Regions from separate parts of the Homo sapiens genome. Here region 2 is linked to region 1. Evidence: promoter capture Hi-C in 16 types of primary human blood cells and fetal thymus (Javierre and others, 2016). All regions are on one chromosome and are shown on one strand. Each heading gives the region's core, a stretch centred on a gene start or on the middle of the fragment in contact. The rest is flanking DNA. Distances are from core to core; before and after follow the strand shown.

Region 1 (5,446 bases), core at 593-3,092:
CCCTAGAACTTAAAAGTATAATAATTTTAAAAAAAGAAAAAAAAAGTGCGTACTGCTCCAACAACAACAACAACAACAACAAAAAGCGCATTTGTTCCACATCTTTCCAAACACTTGGTAATTTTCTCTTTTTCGTTTTAGCTATCCTGCTGGGTATGCAACTGTACTACATTGAGATTTAATTTGCATTTCCTTGATGACTAATGAAATTTGCATTTCCTTGATGACTAATGAAATTGATGTCTTTTCACATTCCTGATGACCATCTGAAGATAGTTTTTTCTTTCTTAGATGGAGTCTAAGATCGCTCAGGCTGGAGTGCAGTGGCGCGATCTCGGGTCACTGCAACCTCCGCTTCCAGGGTTCAAGCGATTCTCCCACCTCAGCCTCCGAGTAGCTGGGATTACAGGCGCCCACTACTATGCCCAGCTAATTGTTTTGTATTTTTAGTAGAGACGAGGTTTCACCACGTTGGCCAGGCTGGTCTTGAACTCCTGACCTCGGGCGATCCACCCACCTCGGCCTCCCAAAATGCTGGGATTACAGGCGTGTGCCACCGTGCACGGCCAAATCTTTTTTTCTTTTTGAGACGGACTCTTGCTCTGTCGCCGAGGCTGGAGTGCAGTGGCGGATCTCGGCTCACTGCAAGTTCCGCCTCCCGGGTTCACGCCATTCTCCTACCTCAGCCTCCCGAGTAGCTGGGACTACCGGCGCCCGCCACCACGCCCGGCTAATTTTTTGTATTTTTAGTAGAGACGGGGTTTCACCGTGTTAGCCAGAATGGTCTCGATCTCCTGACCTTGTGATCCGCCCGCCTCAGCCTCCCAAAGTGCTAGGATTACAGGCGTGAGCCACCGCGCCGGGCAGAAATAGACATTTTCAAGTGACTGGAGATCATTCATTATATAATTAAAGTAAAAGTAGTCTGCAGGGTGTAATATTTTAAAGCACATTACAATTATGACATTTATGAAATAATTCCAAAATCTGAACTACTTTTTCAACAATTTAAAAAATCTCTAATAAAAAGGGGAATGGTGAATTTTGCTTTATTTATATACACATATTTTTTTAAACCCCAGCACTGTTGAGTACTAGTGTTTGTGTTGGCAACATGGTTTAGCGGGAAAAACACAGAGGTTTACTGCAACTGTGGACCACGTGAGTGAGAAAAAAGTCACTATATGTGTAAAGTATTGTGTAAAGAACGTTAAATAGCTTGATTCTAAGAGAAACTGTTTAGGTTTACATGGTATTTTACTGACAAGCACACATATTGTATGTGACGAAAGCATATCACGTATAAATTAGTATATGTATTATGAGCTCAATCTGTTAATTTAGGTTCTTATTCTTAAGTGCTGCTGTCTCTGTTTATAACGTAATAGTGCTACTTTCATTATCTCAAGAGAGCCGTGGGGTTGTACATGGGTCTAAAACGGACACGCGACAAGGGTTCCTAGGAATAAACCATAAACAGGCCCGGGAGCTACGCTAACGCCAAACGCCGAGCAGTGAGACGCGCAGCACCCGCCCTGCGCCTCGGTGGCAGCCGTCCACGCCGTCAGTGCCTGGCGGTTCCCGTGGGACATACCGTCCACTCGCCACGCCCCTCCGCCCGCGGCGCACCCCACGCACCGTGCCCTGGCCGCCCGCCTCACGCACCGCTTTCCTCTCCGTCCAGCGCTCGCTGCAGCCGGGCCGTCTCGCAGTCCAGCGTGCTGGCCAGAGACCGCAGCTTCCCGCAGAAGCTCCGGATAGGGTCCATGCTGAGCACAGCGGGGAAGGACTCCAGGCGTACGCAGACCCCACCGCTCAGCTCACAGCCTCCCGCCACTAGTTTGAATCTCGGCGCCGGACGCGTCCTCGGCTCTGCGCAGGCGCAGTCCTCTCTCGCGAGAGCCGAAGTCTCTCGCCGAGGCCCCAGGAGACCCCGCGAGACGGGTGCGCTTACGCCACGGCGTCTGCTGGCGGCCGCGGAGACGCAGAGTCTTGAGCAGCGCGGCAGGTGAGTAGCTGTGCGAATTCGGTTCTCTAGGGAGCTCCTTCTTCGCCTGCTGGCCTTACCTGGGCTCCCCGCTTCTCTGGAGGGGAGGCGGTGCGGGAACTCCCGTAGGCGTGAGCTGGAGCGCGCGCCCGCTGCTCTCTCCAGGTCCGGCCGCGCCAGTTCGCCTCCGCAAAGCCCGTCCCTCTCTTCCGCAGGCACCATGTTCCTGACTGCGCTCCTCTGGCGCGGCCGCATTCCCGGCCGTCAGTGGATCGGGAAGCACCGGCGGCCGCGGTTCGTGTCGTTGCGCGCCAAGCAGAACATGATCCGCCGCCTGGAGATCGAGGCGGAGAACCATTACTGGCTGAGCATGCCCTACATGACCCGGGAGCAGGAGCGCGGCCACGCCGCGGTGCGCAGGAGGGAGGCCTTCGAGGCCATAAAGGCGGCCGCCACTTCCAAGTTCCCCCCGCATAGATTCATTGCGGACCAGCTCGACCATCTCAATGTCACCAAGAAATGGTCCTAATCCTGAGTCGTCACCCTTGGATTTTATGGATCACGGAGCTGACCATCTTTACCTGGTCCTGGAACTGAAAAACTGTAGCTTGTGTGAAAATGAGCCTTTGGACCAGTCTTTATTAAAACAAACAAACATGAGTAGTCTGCATATCGAATATCTAGAGCTCTAAACCCCCAATACTTAAAAGTCTAATTGCTGTCCTGTGGTTTCATTAGTCTGATAGGAAGATAGGGATTTCCTCAGTCACAGATGATATTTTGAAGGAAAGCTGCAATAAAGCCACAATGATTTGAGGTCTTTGCTTAAGTATGAGATACTTGATGGGGGCTTTATCATGCAACATTAGTTTGCTTACCTTAAGAATTGCCCAAAAATGAAAGAAAATATGAGCTTTTCAGTTAAACATACTCCTAAAAACATTTTCCGGGATTTTACTACTAAAATTGGACATTTAAGCGAAGTAAAAGAGGCCGGGTGCGGTGGCTCACGCCTGTAATCCCAACACTTTAGGAGTCCAAGGCGGGCGGATCACTTGAGGTCAGGAGTTCAAGACCAGCTTGGCCAAGGTGATAAAACCCGTCTCTACTAATACAAAAAAAATTAGCTGGGTATGTTGGTGCAGGCTTGCAATCCCAGCTACTTGGGACGCTGAGGTGGGAGGATCGCCTGAACCTCAGAGGCAGAGGTTGCAATGAAGCGGAGGTTGCAGTGAGCCGAGAGCATGCCGCTGCACTCCAGCCTGGGAGACTGCATCTCAAAAAAGAAAAATAAACGAAGTAAAAGATATTTATCAGAGCTGTTACAGGAAGGTGTATTTTTTAGCTATTTTGGCAGGGTGCTGTGGTGCTTGCATGTAGTCCCAGCTATTCAGGAATATTGCTTGAGTCCAGCTTGGGCAACATAGCGAGACCCTATCTAAAATAACAATAATATATGGCCAGGCGGGATGGCTCACGCCTGTAATCCCAGCACTTTGGGAGGCTGAGGCGGGCAGATCACTTGAGGCCAGGAGTTCAAGACCAGCCCAACCAACATGGTGAAACCCTGTCTCCACTGAAAATACATAAAATTAGCCGGGTGCAGTGGTGAGGCCTGTAATCCCAGCTACTCAGGAGGCTGAGGCAGGAGAATCGCTTGCACCCAGGAGGTGGAGGCTGCAGTAAGTCGAGATTGTGTCACTGCACTCTAGCCTGGGCGACAGAAAAAGAAAATTTAGGTGGGGAAAAAAATCAGAATTGCGTCTGTGGGAACAGGAATAAAGGAGAAACCACTATTGACTGGGAAGACACACAAAGAACTTTGTCAAAGTTGTATGGCTGAGGCCCACACGGTGGCTCACTTCTGTAATCCCATCACTTTGGGAGGCTTAGGCAGAAGGATCACCTGAGATCAGGAGTTCCAGACCAGCCTGGCCAACATGGCGAAACCCCATCTCTACTAAAAATACAAAAATTAGCCGGGCGTGGTGGCTTACGCCTGTAATCCCAGCACTTTGGGAGGCCAAGGTGGGCGGATCACAAGGTCAGGAGTTCGAGACCAGCCTGGCCAATATGGTGAAACCCCATCTCTACTAAAAATATAAAAATCAGCAAAAAAAATTTAGCCAGGCTTGGTCATGCATGCCTGTAATCCTAGCTACTGGGAAGGCTGAGGAAGGAGAATTGCTTGAACCCAGGTGGTGGAGGTTGCAGTGAGCTGAGATCGTGCCACTGCTCTCCAGCCTGCATGACGGGAGTGAGACACCATCTCAAAAAATACATATAATAATATAAATAAAAATATCTTTTTTGAAAATAATTTAATATACCATGTAATTTACCAGTTGAAGATGTTCGCTTTCAGAATATAATAAAAATAGTCAAAAACTTTGTGTTTCTAAATACATACTGTATATAGTAGTGTAATACAGTACCCTATACAATATGCATTTGGTGACACAGTATACAGCACTCTATACGGTTGGAACTATTTTATATTTGAGGAAACATTTAAGGAACTGTCCACAGTTACAGCCAGTGATGAGATGGACTTGAGATTGAATTGCTGTATAATACAGAAATCTTGGGTGAGTACGGTCAACAATAATTTATTGAACATTTAAAAATAGCTGAGGCCGGGTGTGGTGGCTCACGCCTGTAATCCCAGCACTTTGGGAGGTCTAGGCAGGCGGATCACGAGGTCGGGAGATCGGGACCATCCTGGCCAATATGGTGAAACCCCATCTCTACTAAAAAATAGAAAAACTAGCTGGGCATGGTGGCACATGCCTTTAATTCCAGCTACTCGGGAGGCTGAGGCAGGAGGAGAATCACTTGAACCAGGGAGTTGGAGATTGCAGTGAGCTGAGATTGTGCCACTGCACTCCAGCCTGGTGACAGAGCAAGACTCCATCTCAAAAAAATAAAAATAAATAGCTGAAAGATGGCCTGGCACACTGGCTAACGTTTGCAATCCCAACACTTTGGGAAGCCTAAGAATTGGAGACCAGCTTGGGCAACATAGTGAGAACTCTACAAAAAATCAAAAAATTGGCCAGGCCCATGGTGTGCACCTGTAGTCCTAGCTGCTTGGGAGACTGAGGCAGAAGGATGGCTTGAGCTGGGGAGGTTGAGGCTGCAGTGAGCTGTGGTTGTGCCACGACACTCCAGCCTGGGCCACAGAGTAAGACCCTGTCTCAAGAAAAAAATAGCTAAAATACTACAATTGGATTGTTTGTAACACAAAGAAAGGATAAATGCTTGCAGCGATGGATTAACCCCCGCCAAAAAAGAAATCTTGTTGACTGTTAAATATATAGAAAAAAAAATTCAATCCCATTATTCACTATTTCCCATTAACGAGATAATCTTCATTTTTTTTTCTTTTAGTCTCCTTATACATACGCTTTTTGAAAATATATTGAGATATTGAGCCCAGGAGCTTGAGGCTGCAGTGAG
Region 2 (5,632 bases), core at 954-3,453, 630 kb before region 1:
GATGAATTTGAAAACTCAGGCATAGTCTCCAGGAACATGCAAAGGCATTGCAGGGTCATAGCAAACTAGTTCATAAAACCAGTGCACACGTCGCTGCTTATGTCTGTTCCTATCCCCTGTCTAAACACACTGGTCATAGGTCCTTCTCCTCCTGTCCACTTCTGACATCCTTTAAAATATCACAAGTAATAGCTTACATTAATACTGCACTTTACAAATGCTTTCTGATCATCCATCCCTTGCCTATATTTATTTTGCTTAGAAAGGAAGGTCGGGCAAGGTGGCTCACGCCTGTAATCCCAGCACTTTGGGAGGCTGAGGCAGGATTGCTTGAGCCCAGGAGTTCGAGATCAGCCTGGGCAGTATGTCAAGATCCTATATCTATGAAAAAAAAATTTTTTTTTTAATTATCCAAACATGGTGCTATGTGCCTGTGGTCACAGCTACTAGGGAGGCTGAGGTAGGAGGATTGCTTGAGCCCAGCAGGTCAAGATGGCAGTGAGGTTTGATTGTGCCACTTCACTCTAGCCTGAGCAACAGAGTGAAACCTTATTCCCACCCCTGCAAAAAAAAGAAAGAAAAAAGAAAGGGAGGGAGGGAGGGAGGAAGGGAGAGAGAAAAGAAGAGAGGGGGAAAGGAAGATGACAATTTCTGAAATGAACAAAACATAAGAGAAACGTTACTTTGGTAAAACTGCTCCACAAGAAAAGGGTGTTGCATTTTTCAGCTGTAGTTGCCCAAGCCAGAAAGCTCATAGTCCTGAACAAGGAACAAAATAATTTAAACATGTCACAAAGTGAATCAGGAATTTATTTTTTCTCTAAAACCCTTTCCTCCTTAACATCACAGTACTTTTGATACATTACTTTTCGGGGGATCCAAAGATGGAAGACAGTGTGTATGTGTGTGGGAGACTTTTGGGGTGACAGAAAGATGTTCCTAAAACTGAAGAATTCCTCCCCATATATATTAATCACATTTGTACCTGTGGTTCCATGAGGCCTAGGGAAGCATGTATTACACTATCTTATTTATACTACACATATTAGACTGAATGTTTATGTCTCCCCAAATTCATACATTGGAATCCCTACCCCCACCGTGATGTTATCAGAAAGCAAGGCCTCTGGGTTGTGTTAGGTCATGGGGCAGAGCCCTCATGCCCAGGATTAGTGCCCTTATGAGAGTGGCCCGAGAAACCCCTCATCCCTTTCAGTATGTGAGGAGACCATGAGAAGATGGCTGTCTATGAACCTGGAAGTGGGCCCTGTCCAGACACTGAAACTGCCAATGCCTTGATCTTGGACCCCTCAGCCTCCAGAACTGTGAGAAATAAATGTCTGTTATTATAAGCCACCCAGTCTATAGCATTTTTGTTTTTTAGAGAGGGGTCTTGCTATGTTACTCAAGCTGGACTGAAACTCCTGGACTCAAGTGTCCTCCTACCTCAGCTTCCCAAGTATCTAGGACAACAGATGCATACATACCACCATGCTCCGCTCAGTCTACAGCATTCTGTTATAGCGGCCAGAATGAACGAAGACACTATATTGCACATGTAATATAATATATGAACAAAGAACAAGTATTTTGGAAGCCAGAATTTCAATACTTATTATTTTAAGACAGGGTCTTACTCTGTCACCCAGGCTGGAGTGCAGTGGCACGATCTTGGCTCATTGCAGCCTCTACCTCTCGGGTTCAAGCGATTCTCCAGCCTCATCCCTGGAGAAGCTGGGACCACAGGCATGCACCACCACACCGCACACCCTGCCCCCCGCCACCAATTTTTGTATTTTTAGTAGAGGCAGGGTTTTGCCATGTTGCCCAGGCTGGTCTCAAACTCAGCTCAAAGAAATCAGCCCACCTTGGCCTCCCAAAGTGCTGGGATTACAGGCGTGAGCCACTGTGCCTGGCTCAATATATATTATTGATCATTCTTTTTTTTTCTTTACTTATTAAACTGCATTGGTTCACTTTCACTAATAGTCTGGATTTGATTTTATACAGCCCTAGAGCCAATGGTAGTCCATTTCATACCTTTGTGTAAATCAGAGAAAGGTACTTCTTCATCAAGACATTGTACTCTCCTCTACAGAAAATTGTCATAATGTATTGTTTTTTGGTTTTTTTTTTTGAGACAGAGTCTTGCTCTGTCACCAGGCTGGAGTGCAGTGGTACGATCTCAACTCACTGCAACCTCTGCCTCCTGGGTTCAAGCGATTCTCCTGCCTCAGCCTCCCAAGTAGCTAGGACTACAGGCGTGCGTCACCACACCCGGCTAATTTTTCTATTTTTAGTAGAGATGGGGTTTCACCATGTTGGTTGGCCAGGATGGTCTCGATCTCTTGACCTCGTGATCTGCCCACCTCAGCCTCCCAAAGTGCTGGGATTACAGGTGTGAGCCACCTGGCCTGGCCCCTTGATTTTTTTTAAGAACAAGATACTTTGTGTGGGAGACTGCCACAGTTACTACTTGAGACCATCGCTACAACAGTTACTACTGTTACTACTTGAGACAGTTACTACTGTTACTACTTGAGACAGTTACTACTGTTACTACTTGAGACAGTTACTACTGTTACTACTTGAGACCGTCTTTATGAGACTGAAAGAAGGGATGAACGTGGAAATGAAAACTTAAGACAAAAGTAACTGTTTTAAAGGAAGGGTCCAGGGGAAGAAGAAGAGAGCTCCCTGCTTCTAGTGAGCAAAGGCAGCCTCGAGCTTCTTCAGCCCTTCATATTTATTGGGTATAAAGAGCAGGGAGGAGGAGGTAGATTGGTCAGCTGCTTAATTGATCACAGGTTCACATTATTGCTAACAGGATTCAGTTGTGCCTAATCACAAGAAACACTCGTGCCTGGGTTGTGACTGCCCTCAGCATTCCTACTGGGCGGCAGGCACAGTTTGTCAGTTTACCAACATCCTGCTTTCACGAGAACAGTTTGCTGTTTGCTCATATAGCCGCCAGTGGTGCACTGAGTTGACCACGACCCTCATTCTTTCAGCCTCCAACAACTTTACTGCCATCTTCTGGAAAATTGTTTTTATTTTTGTTATAAGTACCAAATCTGTGATGTATATAATGTGAGCAACACCTCCTTAAATGTGTCCTTGTGCAGTGCACAACCCACAACCTATACAACCATATGTCACAGAGGCTATGATGTGTATGATATTGTCTAGGGAAACTGATGTGCTTGAGTATAACTATGTCCAGAGAGATAGTAGGTTCTTGTCAGAAAATTAGGGTTTCATAACCACTTATAATTACTGTAGCTTTTTCCCAAATTACTTCCAACTTCACTTACAGAAAATGTCACTTATGGATTTTATCTTTGTCTAGATTCAGGATTCTAGGGGTGGTAGGAGGATGAGTAAGAGGAAGGGAGATGGAGATCCTGAATTTGAGAAATCTACAAAAATTAGAAGCTGAGAAGCTAAATCAACAAGCATGTAGACTTGCTGAAGGAAACAGGCCAATTAAGATCTTCACCCTGGATGACCCCTTGACTTTCTTCACTGGGGTTTCAGAGAAAGTATTTAGATGCCCGTTTCAAAGTCATTACTGGATAAAGACACATTTGCAATGAAAAAGAAAGATTTTATTTGCCTTTTCTTCTCACAGTTCAATAATTTTGCATATAAGACTTGGTTTTAAAAATACAAAATGATGATTCTCAAAGTAAATGAACCACCTCAAAAAGACAAAAACCTACCATCTTCCGAAAGAACTCTCACTTTCCTCGGCATTAAACACACTCAAACCAGTGGAATCAATGGGAAACTAACAATGTTTTTGCAGAGTGACATCCCATTAGTCACAAGGGGAATTTTGAAAAGCACACGTAAGCATAACATTAATTCATTTCCCAGCATTCTGTATTGTAGTAGCCTAGAGATTTAAAAGAAATTACCTCACTTGTCTTTAAAAACTACACTCTACCTTTGAACAATTAGCAGATTGGGCACCAACTGCTCCTGCCCCGTGCAGTTGAACACTTGCCTATAAGTGACCCGCACGCAGTTCAAACTCATGTTGTTCAGAGGTCAGCTGTATGATCAGGTCACTAATGAGTCTTCAGACCATGTTTTGGGGCTTACAAACAAAGATAGTTCATTCAAAAAATTTTTTAAATGGTGTAGTCAGGTGATCTTAATAGTCTCTCCATCCTTGCAGCACTGTCCAACAGAACTGTCTGCAATAAAGGAAATGTTCTATGTCACATTCTCCAACACAGTAGCCACTATTCCTGTGTGGCAGTTGAGCACCTGGATGTGGCTAGTGTGACTGAAGAAATGAATTATTATTATTATTATTATTATTATTATTATTATTATTATTATTTAGACAGAGTCTCACTCTGTTGCCCAGGCTGGAGTGCAGTGGTGTGATCTTGGCTCACTGCAGCCTACGCCTCCTGGGTTAAAGCGATTCTCCTGCCTCAGCCTCCTGAGTAGCTGGGATTACAGGCATCCACCACCACGCCTGGCTAATTTTTATATTTTTGATAGAGATGAGGTTTCACTCTGTTGGCCAGGCTGATCTCAAACTCCTGACCTCAGGTGATCCACCTGCCTTGGCCTCCCAAAGTGCTGGGATTACAGGTGTGAGCCACCATTCTCGGCCTGAAGTTTTAATTTGATTTAATTTTGAAAAGCACACATAAGTATAACATTAATCAGAATTATTTTTAATTTAATTTACATTAATTTTTTTATAGAGACAGATCTCACTATGTTGTTCAGGCTGGTCTCCAACTCCCGGCCTCAAGTGATCCTCCTGCCTCAGCTACTCAAAATGCTGGAATTACAGGCATAAGCCACCACACCTGGCCTTCCATTTAATTTTAAACAGCCACGGCTAGTGGCTACTGTGTTAGGTGCGCAGCTTGCATATGCTCTCGTATCTGCCAGGAATGCCTTCCTTCTGGCTTATCCATTTGTGAAACTCCTACAAATGAATGGATGGATGAAGGAATGAGTGAACTTGTTACTGTTAGACCCTGTATAGAGCTGACGTGGATCAACAAAGATAATTAATGCTGAAAACATAATGCACTTAATTTCACTGTTTCTTGTCATCAAATATCTTTGTACAATATTTATTTGGTTTACTTGAGTGCTTGTTTTTTAGTGATTTTGGATGCTGAACAAGGGAGAGTTGACTTTGGGTTGGAAAGAACTTACTGGTTTCTTTTCAAGCCACATTCCAGCCTTCACTGATCCTACTTTCAAGTTGAAAAGCTAAATTCATATCTGTTATTATGAAACCAATTTAATTACTGACTCAAGCAAGTAGAAAAAATGACATGTTATACTATGGAATAAGGCTTTTTATAAGCCAGCTCTTCTGAAAGCAGCAAAAGAAAAGCCAAAGTGATGGAAATTTACTTTGCACACAGACTGCACAAACGCCCTTTTAGAAATCAGCTTTGGTGTGCATGAAAGCCTGGCTGTAACAACAGCGCAGTGTGTGAGTTCATGAACCAGCCAGCCTGTGCTGCTTTGTAAGGAAACCTTTCACAGGGCCCCACTTTGCTCCAGGCACAAGCAGGGTCATGTGGGCTGCAATTAGAGCATGCCACAGGCCAGCTTTTTACTATTTTCCATCCATAAAAGCGGCTTG

Evidence for each region. Contacts are between HindIII fragments. The CHiCAGO score rates a contact against its expected background, and 5 or more counts as called.
Region 2: a contact is called between a fragment that was not itself captured here and the fragment with the promoter of SKA3 in region 1, in 1 of 17 cell types (monocytes). The highest score is 5.5, in monocytes.

What each region holds. Positions count from the first base shown.
Region 1 is chr13:21,174,710-21,180,155 of GRCh38, forward strand. SKA3 (spindle and kinetochore associated complex subunit 3) reads right to left here and starts at 1,843. Exons shown (of 9, transcript NM_145061.6): 1 at 1,666-1,843. The coding sequence starts at 1,768. It overlaps MRPL57 (mitochondrial ribosomal protein L57), which reads left to right and starts at 1,949. Exons shown (of 2, transcript NM_024026.5): 1 at 1,949-2,008; 2 at 2,203-4,375. The coding sequence starts at 2,208. The coding sequence ends at 2,516. RefSeq lists enhancers at 1-638, 1,361-2,083, 2,099-2,418. The HindIII fragment of the contact is 19,534 bases long and covers 1-5,446 here.
Region 2 is chr13:20,548,048-20,553,679 of GRCh38, forward strand. It overlaps LOC105370103 (a long non-coding RNA gene), which reads right to left. Exons shown (of 6, transcript XR_941725.3): 6 at 3,587-4,202. Among named protein-coding and RNA genes, the nearest start is that of IFT88, 16 kb to the right of the region's middle. The HindIII fragment of the contact is 9,139 bases long and covers 1-5,632 here.